4 separate regions of the Homo sapiens genome follow, and regions 1, 3 and 4 are each linked to region 2. Evidence: promoter capture Hi-C in human tissues and cell types (Jung and others, 2019). All regions are on one chromosome and are shown on one strand. Each heading gives the region's core, a stretch centred on a gene start or on the middle of the fragment in contact. The rest is flanking DNA. Distances are from core to core; before and after follow the strand shown. Region 1 holds the start of CCDC43 (coiled-coil domain containing 43). Region 2 overlaps LINC00910 (long intergenic non-protein coding RNA 910). Region 3 holds the start of ITGA2B (integrin subunit alpha 2b). Region 4 holds the start of DBF4B (DBF4B-CDC7 kinase regulatory subunit).

Evidence for each region. The method cuts DNA at HindIII sites, captures the fragments that hold promoters and counts their contacts. A contact is called where the count stands out against the background at its distance.
Region 1: the fragment with the promoter of CCDC43 here is called in contact with a fragment that was not itself captured in region 2 in 1 of the 25 tissues and cell types used here (dorsolateral prefrontal cortex).
Region 3: the fragment with the promoter of ITGA2B here is called in contact with a fragment that was not itself captured in region 2 in 1 of the 25 tissues and cell types used here (spleen).
Region 4: the fragment with the promoter of DBF4B here is called in contact with a fragment that was not itself captured in region 2 in 2 of the 25 tissues and cell types used here (dorsolateral prefrontal cortex and hippocampus).

The regions. Positions count from the first base shown.
Region 1 is chr17:44,688,481-44,691,312 of GRCh38, reverse strand. CCDC43 (coiled-coil domain containing 43) reads left to right here and starts at 1,537. Exons shown (of 5, transcript NM_144609.3): 1 at 1,537-1,763. The coding sequence starts at 1,560. LOC105371792 (a long non-coding RNA gene) reads right to left here. Exons shown (of 4, transcript XR_007065769.1): 4 at 2,300-2,372. LOC124904010 (a long non-coding RNA gene) reads right to left here and starts at 1,532. Exons shown (of 2, transcript XR_007065770.1): 1 at 1,459-1,532; 2 at 1,003-1,318. RefSeq lists enhancers at 1,407-1,546, 1,215-1,804. The HindIII fragment of the contact is 3,238 bases long and covers 1-2,832 here.
Region 2 is chr17:43,383,029-43,386,029 of GRCh38, reverse strand. All of the region lies in intron 1 of LINC00910 (long intergenic non-protein coding RNA 910), which reads left to right. Among named protein-coding and RNA genes, the nearest start is that of LINC00910, 4.4 kb to the left of the region's middle. The HindIII fragment of the contact is 7,633 bases long and covers 1-3,001 here.
Region 3 is chr17:44,387,961-44,391,103 of GRCh38, reverse strand. ITGA2B (integrin subunit alpha 2b) reads left to right here and starts at 1,455. Exons shown (of 30, transcript NM_000419.5): 1 at 1,455-1,818. The coding sequence starts at 1,631. RefSeq lists an enhancer at 1,239-1,298. The HindIII fragment of the contact is 17,139 bases long and covers 195-3,143 here.
Region 4 is chr17:44,707,297-44,710,218 of GRCh38, reverse strand. DBF4B (DBF4B-CDC7 kinase regulatory subunit) reads right to left here and starts at 1,554. Exons shown (of 14, transcript NM_145663.3): 1 at 1,380-1,554; 2 at 853-915. The coding sequence starts at 1,398. RefSeq lists enhancers at 720-1,233, 1,234-1,748. The HindIII fragment of the contact is 13,873 bases long and covers 1-2,922 here.

The sequences.
Region 1 (2,832 bases), core at 288-2,787, 1.3 Mb before region 2:
AGGTACTCAGTACATATTTGAGGAAGGAGTTAGCCAGGACCTTGCCAGCTTCCTCTGCACTTCAGCTAAAGCCAACCAAATTCTTGGGTAATTCATTCCAGCCCAGAGCCAGGTGTTTTGACGTCAGCTGAAGCTCTCATAACTCTGCCAAAGAAGAGTTCTTGCCACTGGTTAGGCGCCCTCTAGTTGTGTGACTCTCTCCATATCTGTCTCCTTATCTTTAGTGATTTTGTTTGTTCGTTTGTTTGTTTGTTTTTGAGATGGAGTCTCACTGTCGCTCAGGCTGGAGTGCAGCGGCGCGATCTTGGCTCACTGCAACCTCCGCCTTCCGGGTTCCAGCGATTCTGAGTAGCTGGGATTACAGGCCCGCGCCACCACACCTGGCTTTTGTTGTTGTTGTTGTTTGTTTTGAGACGGAATTTCGCTCTTGTTGCCCAGGCTGGAGTGCAATGGCACGATCTCTGCTCACCGCAACCTCCGCCTCCTGGGTTCAAGCGATTCTCCTGCCTCAGCCTCCCACGTAGCTGGGATTACAGGCATGTCCCACCACGCCCGGCTAATTTTGTATTTTTAGTAGAGACGGGGGTTCTCCATTTTGGTCAGGCTAGTCTCGAACTCCAGACCTCAGGTGAGCTGCCCACTTTGGCCTTCCAAAGTGCTGGGATTACGGGAGTGAGCCACCGTGCCCGGCCTTATTTTTGTATTTTTACTAGAGACGGGGTTTCACCATGTCGGCCAGGCTGGTCTCGAACTCCTGACCTCAGGTGATCCACCCGCCTCGGCTTCCCAAACTGTTGGGATTACAGGCGTGAGACATGGCGCCCGGCCTGTCTCCTTATCTTTAAAATGTGGACAATAAAAGCATCTCCCCACAGGGCTGTAGGGAGGATTACAAGAGATAATGCATGAAAAGCTTTTGGCACAGTGCCTAGCAGAGGGTGGGGTACGCTTCTCAAAGAATAGTCCCGTGCACGCGTTGAATCAATGAGTGGAAGAAATAACTTGAGGTTGCCTGTTTATTTACTGAGTGCCTACCATGGAATCAGGGAAGGTTTTCTGCAACCTTTACTTTGACAGGGAAGGGCTTGTACAGGTGAAGGTGGTAGCCGTCGGTAGCGACGACGAGGGTATTCCAGGCTGTCAGGAGGTTCTTGCCAGACAGCTGTGTGGGAGTGGGCGGCCAGCATCCCCCGAAAGCGCGGGGAAGGCAGCTCGGTCGGGTGGAGGAAGCGATGGCATCCACGCTGAGCTCCAGTCCTGGGTAGTTATTAGCCGCGTGACTTTGGCCAAATTACTGCACCTCTCTCAACTTCCCGAACTGTAGAATGAGTCTGTTAAGAATACTCACATGCCAAGCATCTTGTGAGATCACGCGACCGCACGTATGCGAAGACGCGCTTCATCTAGAAAGCACAAAACTCTCAAGCCGGCCGACACGGCTGCGCTCTTTGCACTTACGGGCCTGGGCTTCCTCTTCAGGCATGCGCGGTGGACCTGCGGCGCGGCCCGTCAGGCACTGCGGTAGGCGCCCTAGGGGCTTGCAGGACCCTGACCCCAAGATGGCGGCGCCCAGCGAAGTGGCCGCGATAGCCCCTGGCGAAGGCGATGGCGGAGGCGGCGGCTTTGGCTCCTGGCTGGACGGACGGTTGGAGGCACTGGGAGTGGACCGAGCCGTTTATGGAGCCTACATCTTGGGTATCCTGCAGGAGGAGGAGGAAGAAGAGAAGCTGGACGCTCTGCAGGGGATCCTCTCTGCTTTCCTGGTGAGTAGCCTGGACACATTCCTTCAGCCTCTGGCCAGCATCTGAGGACCTGTCAGTACTTTGCACCCTCCCTCCCCTACCGGGTATCCCAGAGGCTCAGTGGTCTCACCTGGGAGAGGTATACTCCTCTGATATCTGGGCGGCGGGGGAAGGAGGTTGCTCCCCAACCAGGTGTGGGAAGCCTGAAAGCTGCAGGTACACAGAGAGGAAGGGCTTTCTCGTATTCTTGGGGACAAGGCCCTCTCCGATGCTTGTGAGTGAGCCGAGGAGGGTTCTTCCGAAGGCATTGAAATGTCAGAATGGGAATGTTATCATAAATATCTGACGACCAATTCCATTTCCATCCGTTTACAGTGTTCACTGGGGGTATTAAAATGCTCTTGGGAGGTCTGTGCCTATTACAAGGCAGTTCCCAGGGCTGTCCCATGACAGAAGCCTGCAGGAAGTGCCCTTTTGATTCTTATATGGATGTAGGAGTCCATAAAAGGTAAGCTGGTGGTAGAAGTCTTTTCATGCCCACGCAGAACTGAAGCAAACGTCGTGCTTGATCCATTACAGTATTTACAGTAATCATTGGTGGTGGGAAGGAGGGTATGAGAGAGATCAGAGCTTTAACGAAGAGAGAGAAACTTAGTCCTTAGCCTGTTAGAAGCAAGGTATTCAGAAATGTGTACTTTAAGCTATGTTTACATAGTAAGTCACCCAGATGTCCACTTTTTCAACCTGATCATTTCTGCTGCCTTCATCTTCACTTCCCACACCTCCAACATACACACTTATTAGACTGGTTATTACAGATTAAATTGGTTGTAGGTGCTACCTGTGGCTGTCTAACAAATTGTTTCCTTTTAAATACAAGCTTAAAAATAAAATTTACTTGAATCATCACTAAATGCTGTAGAAGCTAGAGTTGTCTCTGCATTCATGGATTAGAGGAGATCCTGGATACCTGATTGCTACTGTGAGAGCCACCTGTCTGTCCATCAAAGGCTTTATCCTCTGGCATTTATTACAATGGACAGGTTAGAAAAATGGGTTCTTTGTTATTCTCAAAACCAATTTTGAAAGG
Region 2 (3,001 bases), core at 38-2,537:
CAAGGTAGTGAAGCCCTGTTCAGGGTGACGAATATCTGTACAACAGCTATTTCAGAGGCTGAGGCAGGAGGATCAGTTGAGTCTGGGAGGTGGATGCTCCAGTGAGCCGTGATTGCACCACTGCACTCCAGCCTTGGTGACAGAGCCAGACCCTGTCTCAAATAAATAAAAATTAAAATTAAAGGAAAGAAAGCGTGGAAGCAGAAGTGGGTCCCATTGAACTTCAAGCCTTCAAGCTACAGCTGTGGCTGGACAGGTTGAACTAGCAGGCAGGAGCAGTCACCATCTTGGCAGGGATTAATGGCCCTGAACCATCATCAGGAAGAGGGAGTAGTGCTCTTATGCAGGGAGGGCAGGTGGAATATATGTGAACTCTGGTGATCTGTTTGGGTGCCACGTGTTACTCCCAGGTCCACCTGTGACATGAATGGACAAGTGCAGGAACCCTGACTTGAGAAAGATGTGGCCTTGAGGGGTTTAGACTTTTCAGGAATGAGAGTTTGGGTCACGGTAGCCAGGGAAACCACCAGGATTAACAGAGTTGATAGCTGAGAAGGAGGGGGGATTTGGAGGGGAGAGGACAGGAGGCACTGGTTGAGTACCAGGGGCAGCCTTGTGACCAAATGCACCAAGAGGGGCTGTCGTTTGACTCACTAACTTTCTGTAGCTCTATGCAGTACAAAAGAGCAGGAGATGAAAGAATGGCAAGTAGATTGGGAGCCGGAAAATAACTGGAATGAACCCACACATTCCTGATTGACATTGACAGTAATATACAGGTACAGGCAGGCAGAGGCGTTTTCTCTTCAACTGATTTTGAAATCATTCTCTCTGTTAGAGTACACAGCTATCTGAAGGTACACAGTGACCATCAACATTTACCAAGCTTTGGGCAAATGTTAAGTGTCATTGTTGTTGGTTTAATTTGATATTGTTCTCTATTGAATAATGTGCACAACAAATTTCTGGATTTTTATTAAAAGAGCATCTCCTGTGCTACATGCAAATATACAATCTGAGAAATTCTGACCCTGGCTATTAAAGTATAAAAAGGTTTCCTTGTCTCAGAACAATGTTAGAACAGACATCAACTCACTGCTTCTAGAAGAGCAGCCACTCCTTGATTTCACAAACTCAATAAACAGTCTCAGTTGTTGTTTAGTATCATTAGGAACTATTTTGACAGAGGTTTCTAGATCATGTCACAATGACATCAGATATCAAAGAAATGTGTAACAGGTTTGGTTATATGCAATGGCTACCCTCAACCCCCCAAGTTCCTGTCCAGTCAAATTCCCTCTGACCTGCTGTCTGCATCTGCCTCTCCAGAAACAGGGCAGACACAGGATTGTCAAACGTGCTTGCTTCCATGCTCTCTCCCTAATGGTGACATGGACTCTGTTCTCAATAAGCACCTCCCACCCCGCCCAAAGGTCCCTATCACCTCTCCCTGGCTCTGGGTCCACTTCTCTGTACCTTGGACATGGGCATAACATGTTGCCCATGAGGCACAGGATGAGTAGCAGGGGCAGCCCTGTGACCAGCTGCAGCAAGAGGGAGTGCTGTTTGGCTCACGACCCTTATGCAGCTCTATGCAGTACAAAAGAGCAGGGGAGAGAAGAATGGCAAGTGGAAGGGGAGGCAGAAAATAACCAGAACAAATGCACATATATGATCGTGGCCTTGGGTTTTCATTTCCTTGTGAGGGCTCCCGTGTCATGTAAAACTTACATTGACAGCTTTTATGATAGCTTTCCTCCTGCTAATCTATGTCAGTTTGAGTCTCAGGCCCAGCAAGGACCCTAAGGAGATAAAGTTTTGCCTCCCCTACACAGTCATTGCCCACTCCCACCCTCATCTTGAGTTAACCACTGATCTACTTTATGTCTAGAGTTCCCGTTCCTGGCATTTCATATGAAAGGAATTACACAGTATGTGGTCTTTTGTGTCTGACTGATGTCTTTCTCTGAGCATAATGTTTCTGAGGTTCATCCCCATTGTGACATGTGCCATTATGTTGTACCATTATGTTTTTATTCCTGAATATCACATTTTGTTTATCCGTTCACCCACTGATGGACGTTTGAGTAGTTTTCAGTTCAAAGCTATTCGAATAATTCTGCTCTAAACATTTGCCTCTAAGTCTTTATAAGGACATACGTTGTCATTTCTCTCGGCCTGCCTGCTCATTACACATTGGTGTTCCTGTGATTCTGAAACATGTACTCTTCTCTTACACAAAGTAGTATCTCCGTGTCATCTCTCCCAGTCCATGGCTACTGGGGACCACCTGTATACCTCACCCTGATCATAGAAACAGAAGTCCAGTCTCTCTATGTTTTCAAAGGCCTCCAAGATTTTCAACTCTTTCTCTCTTTCTCTTTCTTTTTCTCTTTTTCTTTTTCTTTCTTTTTTTCTTTCTTTCTCTCTCTCCCTCTCTCTCTCTCTCCCTCTCTCTCTCTCTCTCTCTCTCCCTCTCTCTCTCTTTCTTTTTTTTTTCAAGTCTCGCTCTGTGGCCCGTGGTGGAGGGCAGTGGCATGACCATGGCTCACAACCTCGACCTCCCCAGCTCAAGTGACCCTCCACCTCAGCCTCCTGAGTAGCTGGGACTACAGGAGCATGCCACCATGCCTAGTTTCATATGTGCTTGCTTCCATCCTCTGCCCCTAATGGTGCCACGTACTCTGTTCTCAGTAAGCACCCCTGGCCCATGGGTCTTTAGACTTAGCCTTGCTCACACGGATTTGCCATCTCCCTTCAGGCCTTTCTGCCTCAACTTGCTGATTCTGTATTTTATAACCCCAGAAAGTGTTCTAAGACCCACTCAGCCACCAGCGTAGACATCTGGAGTTATAACTGTATCACTTGTTATCCAAATCCATGTGGTCCCCAAGTTTCAGATATTGGTAGTGAGAATTGAGGTCTCAAAAAACATATTTGCTTCTTCTCTCTCCCTCAGCCTCCCTCCTTCAGTCATCAAGTCCCAGAGCAGAATGCTTCC
Region 3 (3,143 bases), core at 206-2,705, 1.0 Mb before region 2:
ACAGTGCCTTGAACAGAGTAAATACTTATTGAAAACTTGAGTGAAATGTAAGTTCATATTTGGCCTCACAGAATACACCAGTAATACAGCAATCACTCACCTGAGGACAGTGGGAGGATAGAAGGTAAGTAGAGGACTGGGTTAAGTATTCGTTCAAGCAAATACATTAATTACACGCCTCCCATGTACTTGACACTGGGAACTCAGCAATGAAGAAGGCCCAGACCAAAGTTCAGGCTTTTAGCTTCCTGTCCTATAAAGGATAAGATTCTTAACTCTAGGCTGAGGTAGTAAATTACGAGGGGACTTCAAAATGGTACAGGGTGGTTGAGCAGGATACGGCAATGGTTAAGTTTGATCAGAAAATAGAAATCAAAAGGAAAATGTGGCTATGGTTACCCCTAGCGGACCTCTTAAATCTTCCTGAGAACCTGCTTTTTTGGGAAGGCATGAGTGCCAGTAAGACTTGGCACTCCTCCTCTTCCGCTTACCGAGAGAAAATGACTTTGCCTTTCTGCTCAAAACTCATCCCTTCACTTTGTCACCCTATGTTTGCATCTTCCATCCTTAGTGTGTGTTTCCATCCAGTCTTTCAGCAATACACGTACTACACATTGGACTCTTGGGTAGTCTCTAGGGCTGTAGCAAGGAGCCTTGCTCCCAAGGGACTCATTTACACAATCCTGTGAACGGACCAAGAGTAAACAGTGTGCTCAATGCTGTGCCTACGTGTGTTAGCCCACGCGGCCAGCCTGAGGAGTCAGGGAAGGCTCCCCTAGGCAAAGCCCCCAACCAGAATCAAGTCTTAATGGTTAAAGAGCTCCATCACCCAAAAAGGATTGAGGGCCTACCTTCAACTGAACAGCTAATGCATAATCTCAGAAACTGTGAGTCAAAATTCCCTGGAATAACTCCACTTTATCCCCAATCTCCTTGCCACCTAGACCAAGGTCCATTCACCACCCTGTCCCCAGCACTGACTGCACTGCTGTGGCCACACTAAAGCTTGGCTCAAGACGGAGGAGGAGTGAGGAAGCTGCTGCACCAATATGGCTGGTTGAGGCCGCCCAAGGTCCTAGAAGGAGGAAGTGGGTAAATGCCATATCCAAAAAGATACAGAAGCCTCAGGTTTTATCGGGGGCAGCAGCTTCCTTCTCCTTCCCCGACCTGTGGCCAAGTCACAAAGCACCACAGCTGTACAGCCAGATGGGGGAAGGGAGGAGATTAGAACTGTAGGCTAGAGTAGACAAGTATGGACCAGTTCACAATCACGCTATCCCAAGCAGAAAGTGATGGTGGCTTGGACTAGCACGGTGGTAGTAGAGATGGGGTAAAGATTCAAGAGACATCATTGATAGGCAGAACCAATAGGACATGGTAATAAACTATTCTCAGGAAAGGGGAGGAGTCATGGCTTTCAGCCATGAGCATCCACCCTCTGGGTGGCCTCACCCACTTCCTGGCAATTCTAGCCACCATGAGTCCAGGGGCTATAGCCCTTTGCTCTGCCCGTTGCTCAGCAAGTTACTTGGGGTTCCAGTTTGATAAGAAAAGACTTCCTGTGGAGGAATCTGAAGGGAAGGAGGAGGAGCTGGCCCATTCCTGCCTGGGAGGTTGTGGAAGAAGGAAGATGGCCAGAGCTTTGTGTCCACTGCAAGCCCTCTGGCTTCTGGAGTGGGTGCTGCTGCTCTTGGGACCTTGTGCTGCCCCTCCAGCCTGGGCCTTGAACCTGGACCCAGTGCAGCTCACCTTCTATGCAGGCCCCAATGGCAGCCAGTTTGGATTTTCACTGGACTTCCACAAGGACAGCCATGGGAGGTGAGCCGTAAGGGAAGTTGGGGTATTGGGAGAGAGCAGGACCCCTCCCCATCACTGCTTCTGGGGGCTTCGAGTTTCCCATTTGCGATAGCAGTTGAGCAAGGTGACTTGTGGGGCCTATTCAGGTTGATTTCTTGTCAAGAATGTTGGGGTCCAGGGGACTGGCTCAGGTGAAGGTATAAGGGCAGGGCACATGTGGGCTGATGGGCACTGAAAACTACAGCAAGAACAAAGGGAAGACAAGAGTTGATGCTTTATTTTTTCCCCAAGGGTCAGTTGTATGAACCACTCCACCCTCAACACCTTGAAATGCAGAGAGGAGGCCGGGCGCGGTGGCTCATGCCTGTAATCCCAGCACTTTGGGAGGCCGAGGCGGGCAGATCACCTGAGGTCGAGAATTCGAGACCAGCCTGACCAACATGGAGAAACCCCGTCTCTACTAAAAATACAAAAAAAAAAAAAAAAAAGAGACCAGGCACAGTGGCTCACACCTGCAATCCCAGCACTTTGGGAGGCAGAGGTGGGCAGATCATGAGGTCAGGAGTTCAAGACCAGCCTGGCCAATATGGTGAAACCCTGTCTCTATTAAAAATACAAAAATTAGCTGAGCGTGGTGGCACACTCCTGTAGTCCCAGCTACTCGGGAGGCTGAGGTAGGAGAATCACTTGAACCCGGGAGGTGGAGGTTGCAGTGAGCTGAGATCATGCCACTGCACTCCAGCCTGGGTGACAGAGTGACACTCCGTCTCAAAAAAAAAAAAATTAGCCGGGCGTGGTGCCGCATGCTTGTAATCCCAGCTACTCGGGAGGCTGAGGCAGGAGAATCGTTTGAACCTGAGAGGCAGAGGTTGTGGTGAGCCGAGATCATGCCATTGCACTCCAGCCTGGGCAACGAGAGCGAAACTCTGTCTCAAAAAAAAAAAAAAAAAAAAAAGAAAGGAAATGTGGAGAGGAGCACATGTCCTAAATTGATTTGCAGAACTAAAGTTGTCTACCCTCCCGCACCTTGCATTTCTGTTCCATTTCCCTCATCTCCATCAACATTATAAATATTTGAAAAGAAGCAATAGGTCATTAATGATTAGTATTGATCAGGCTTCAGAATCAAGAGTGCCAAGATTAGAGTCTTGGCTCCTCCTCTTCATAGCGTGTACCCTGAGCTACTATTGTGAGAGACACTGTGCCCACCAGCTTCAGGGAGTGGCAATGGGTGGCAATGGCAGATAGCCTTCAAGTGTCAGCCACTTAGGGGATTTCCTCTGCTGAAGAGAGCCAGTTCACTCCAAGTCCCCTCCCAAGATGGCCCACATCCAGTGTCTGATCAA
Region 4 (2,922 bases), core at 305-2,804, 1.3 Mb before region 2:
ACAATCCAGAAGTAAAAGTAGACGGTATTTTTTTTTTCTTTTTTTTGAGACGGAGTCTCGCTCGGTCGCCCAGGTTGGAGTGCAGTGGCGCAATCTCGGCTCGCTGCAACCTCCGCCTCCTGGGTTCAATCAATTTTCCTGCCTCAGCCTCCTGAGTAGCTGGGACTACAGGCACGCCTCACCACGCCCGCCTAATTTTTTGTATTTTTAGTAGAGATGGGGTTTCACTGTGTTAGCCAGGATGGTCTCAATCTCCTGACCTCGTGATCCGCCCGCCTTGGCCTCCCAAAGTGCTGGGATTACAGGCGTGAGCAGCCGCGCCCGGCCAACTAGATGATATTAACTAAAGGGGCAGTACGGAGGGAAGTGCCATGTGCTAAAATACTTACCTAATTAGGTAGCAGTGTTTAACTTAAGGATTTTATTGTAAACAACTATGAATGTATTAATTTATATATTTAATAAGTCACTCTATCCTGACTCCACATCTGTCTGTTAATCTTGTTCATAATATGACTCTTACTTGACCTTTATCATGAATCCCAAAACGGTCTATGATGCTGCGTCCATACACACACACACATAAAACCACTAAGTGGGCCTGGTGAAGTGGCTCACACCTGTAATCCCAGCATTTTGGGAGGCCTAGGCAGGAGAACTGCTTGAGGCCAGGAGTTTGAGACCAGCTTGGCCAACACAGCAAGACCCCATCCCAATAAATAAAATGAATAAATAAGTACATAAAAACACTGAGTGATCGAAAACTCCAACAGGGGGAACATTTTTCGGTCTTCTCCAAGAGACCCTGGGGCAATTTTCACCTCACGTCCCTAGTTCTGTCCTGTTACCCACCTAGGTCCGGGGCCCGGAGCCTACTCTCAGCCATGGAACTCTCCAGCTCGAGGCAATCGTCTCCTGAGAAAGGACATAACAGCAACTCAACCATCTTCACCAACCCTTGGAACTTCCATGCCTCCCGCCCACTACTGTCTCCCAAAACGCGCACAGAAACGCGACTCCTGGGAACAGCAAGACTCAACTCCATTCCGACCTACATCCCGCGACTCCCGCCAGGCTCTTGCCCCTCATGCCCTCCGCCTCCTTTCAGACTCCGTTCAGTCAACGGCCGTGACCTCTTGGCCACCTCCTGTCCATCTCAATCTCCATACATCCCTCCAGGCTGTTGTCCCCTACGTTCCTCTGCCACCTTCATTCCTCGGTCCCCTCAACTCCTGTGGCTCCTTCCCGGCCCCTATACCCTCCTCAGCTTCGGCACCTACCCGCTGGTCACTTCCTAAGCCCCCTCCACGACTCCGCACCTCGCCTCAGCTATTAACGACCCCTTCCGCCTTTCTTTCTCCCCTTCCCGGCATCCGTACCCTTTCCCGGTTCGCTCATCAAATGCCGGCTCCTTCTCGGCCTCCGTACTCCTTCCTCAGAGGCCTCCGTATTACATTCGCGAGCTCCATGAGCTCTTCCCGATTCCACAGTCCTGGTTATCTCAGGGCAGCTACAGCATCAATCTCTTGGCGTTTTCGGCCGCGGCTTCAGTTTAAATTTCCTGCCGGCTCCACCCCTAAAAGAACGCCGTAGCTGCGAGATCCGCCCTACGGTGTCCTTGGAAGGACAATATTAGTTTCGCGATTCCTCTTTCCGTTCCCCCACCGCCTACGTCTTCTCAAACCGTCTCTTCATTTCTTGGCTCTTCACTGGCTAGACGGCTTTGCCCCTTAATGGCCCTCAAGTTGAGGACTAGTGGTCGCTTTTTAGTGATTCTTCACACTGAGCTGCATTGAAATTCCTAGAAGTTTGAATACTAAATAACAAAATAAGCCTAACACTTGCAGAGCATTTGCAGTTTACATAAAGATTTCACTTACACATCATTTCATCTTCACATTTTTGTCCCCCTCCCGTTCTTCAATTATTACCTGCCCAACAAAACTTCTCAAAAGACGTATCTTTATCCCTCACTTCCCATCTTTTCTTCAACCCATCTAATTAGACTGCTAATTAGAGATCAAATTTGATCTAATAAGAGATCATTCAGTGGAGAGCTGGGGACCTCCCCACAAAAACTGTACTTATCCAGGTCAACTGTGATTTCCACAGTCTGAAATACTATCCTTATCATATCCAACTTATAGATGGACTATTCCTTCTTTGAAATACTTTCTTCTTTTTGCTTCCATGACTCAGCACTCTACCGTTTTTTTCCCTATCTCAATGGTTCCTCCTCAGTCCCCTTTGCTGGATCCAAAGCCACTGTTCACCTATATATTTTGGAGTATGCCAACGCTTTAGCCCTTATCCCTCTCCCTTATCTCCCTAGGAGATCTCATCCAGCTCCACAGCTTTACAATTCAGCTCTGCCACACCTTCAGATTTTCTGTAGCTCTGACCTGTCTGATCTCCAGACTCACATATTCAAGTGCCTACTGGCTATTTCAATTTGGATGTCTAATAGGCACCTCAGGCTGAACACATTCAAAACAGAACATTTGTTTCGCTGCCCCTGTCAAAAAACCACCTGTTCTCCCCCCAGGTCTTCCCCTCTCAGTAAAATGTTACTGTTTACTCAAATGTCACAATCATTCACCCAGTTGCTCAAACCAAAAACCTAGAAGTTGTCTTTCAGTACTTTCCCTTGTGCCCATCCCCACTCCAAGAAAAAAATCCTACTAACTCTGCCTCCAAAGTACATCTGGAATCAGACCACCACCACCCTAGTTCAAGCTGCTATCATTTCTTGCCTAAAGTACTGCGGTCAATTCTTCACTTCTACTCCCGAGTAGCTTCCTATCTCTCCCCAGTATAATCCATTCTCCATTCAGCAACCAGAGTGATAGTTTTTATATTTATTTATTTTTTTATTGAGAGGGAGTCTCGCTCTGTCGCCCAGGCTGGAGTGCAGTGGCGCAA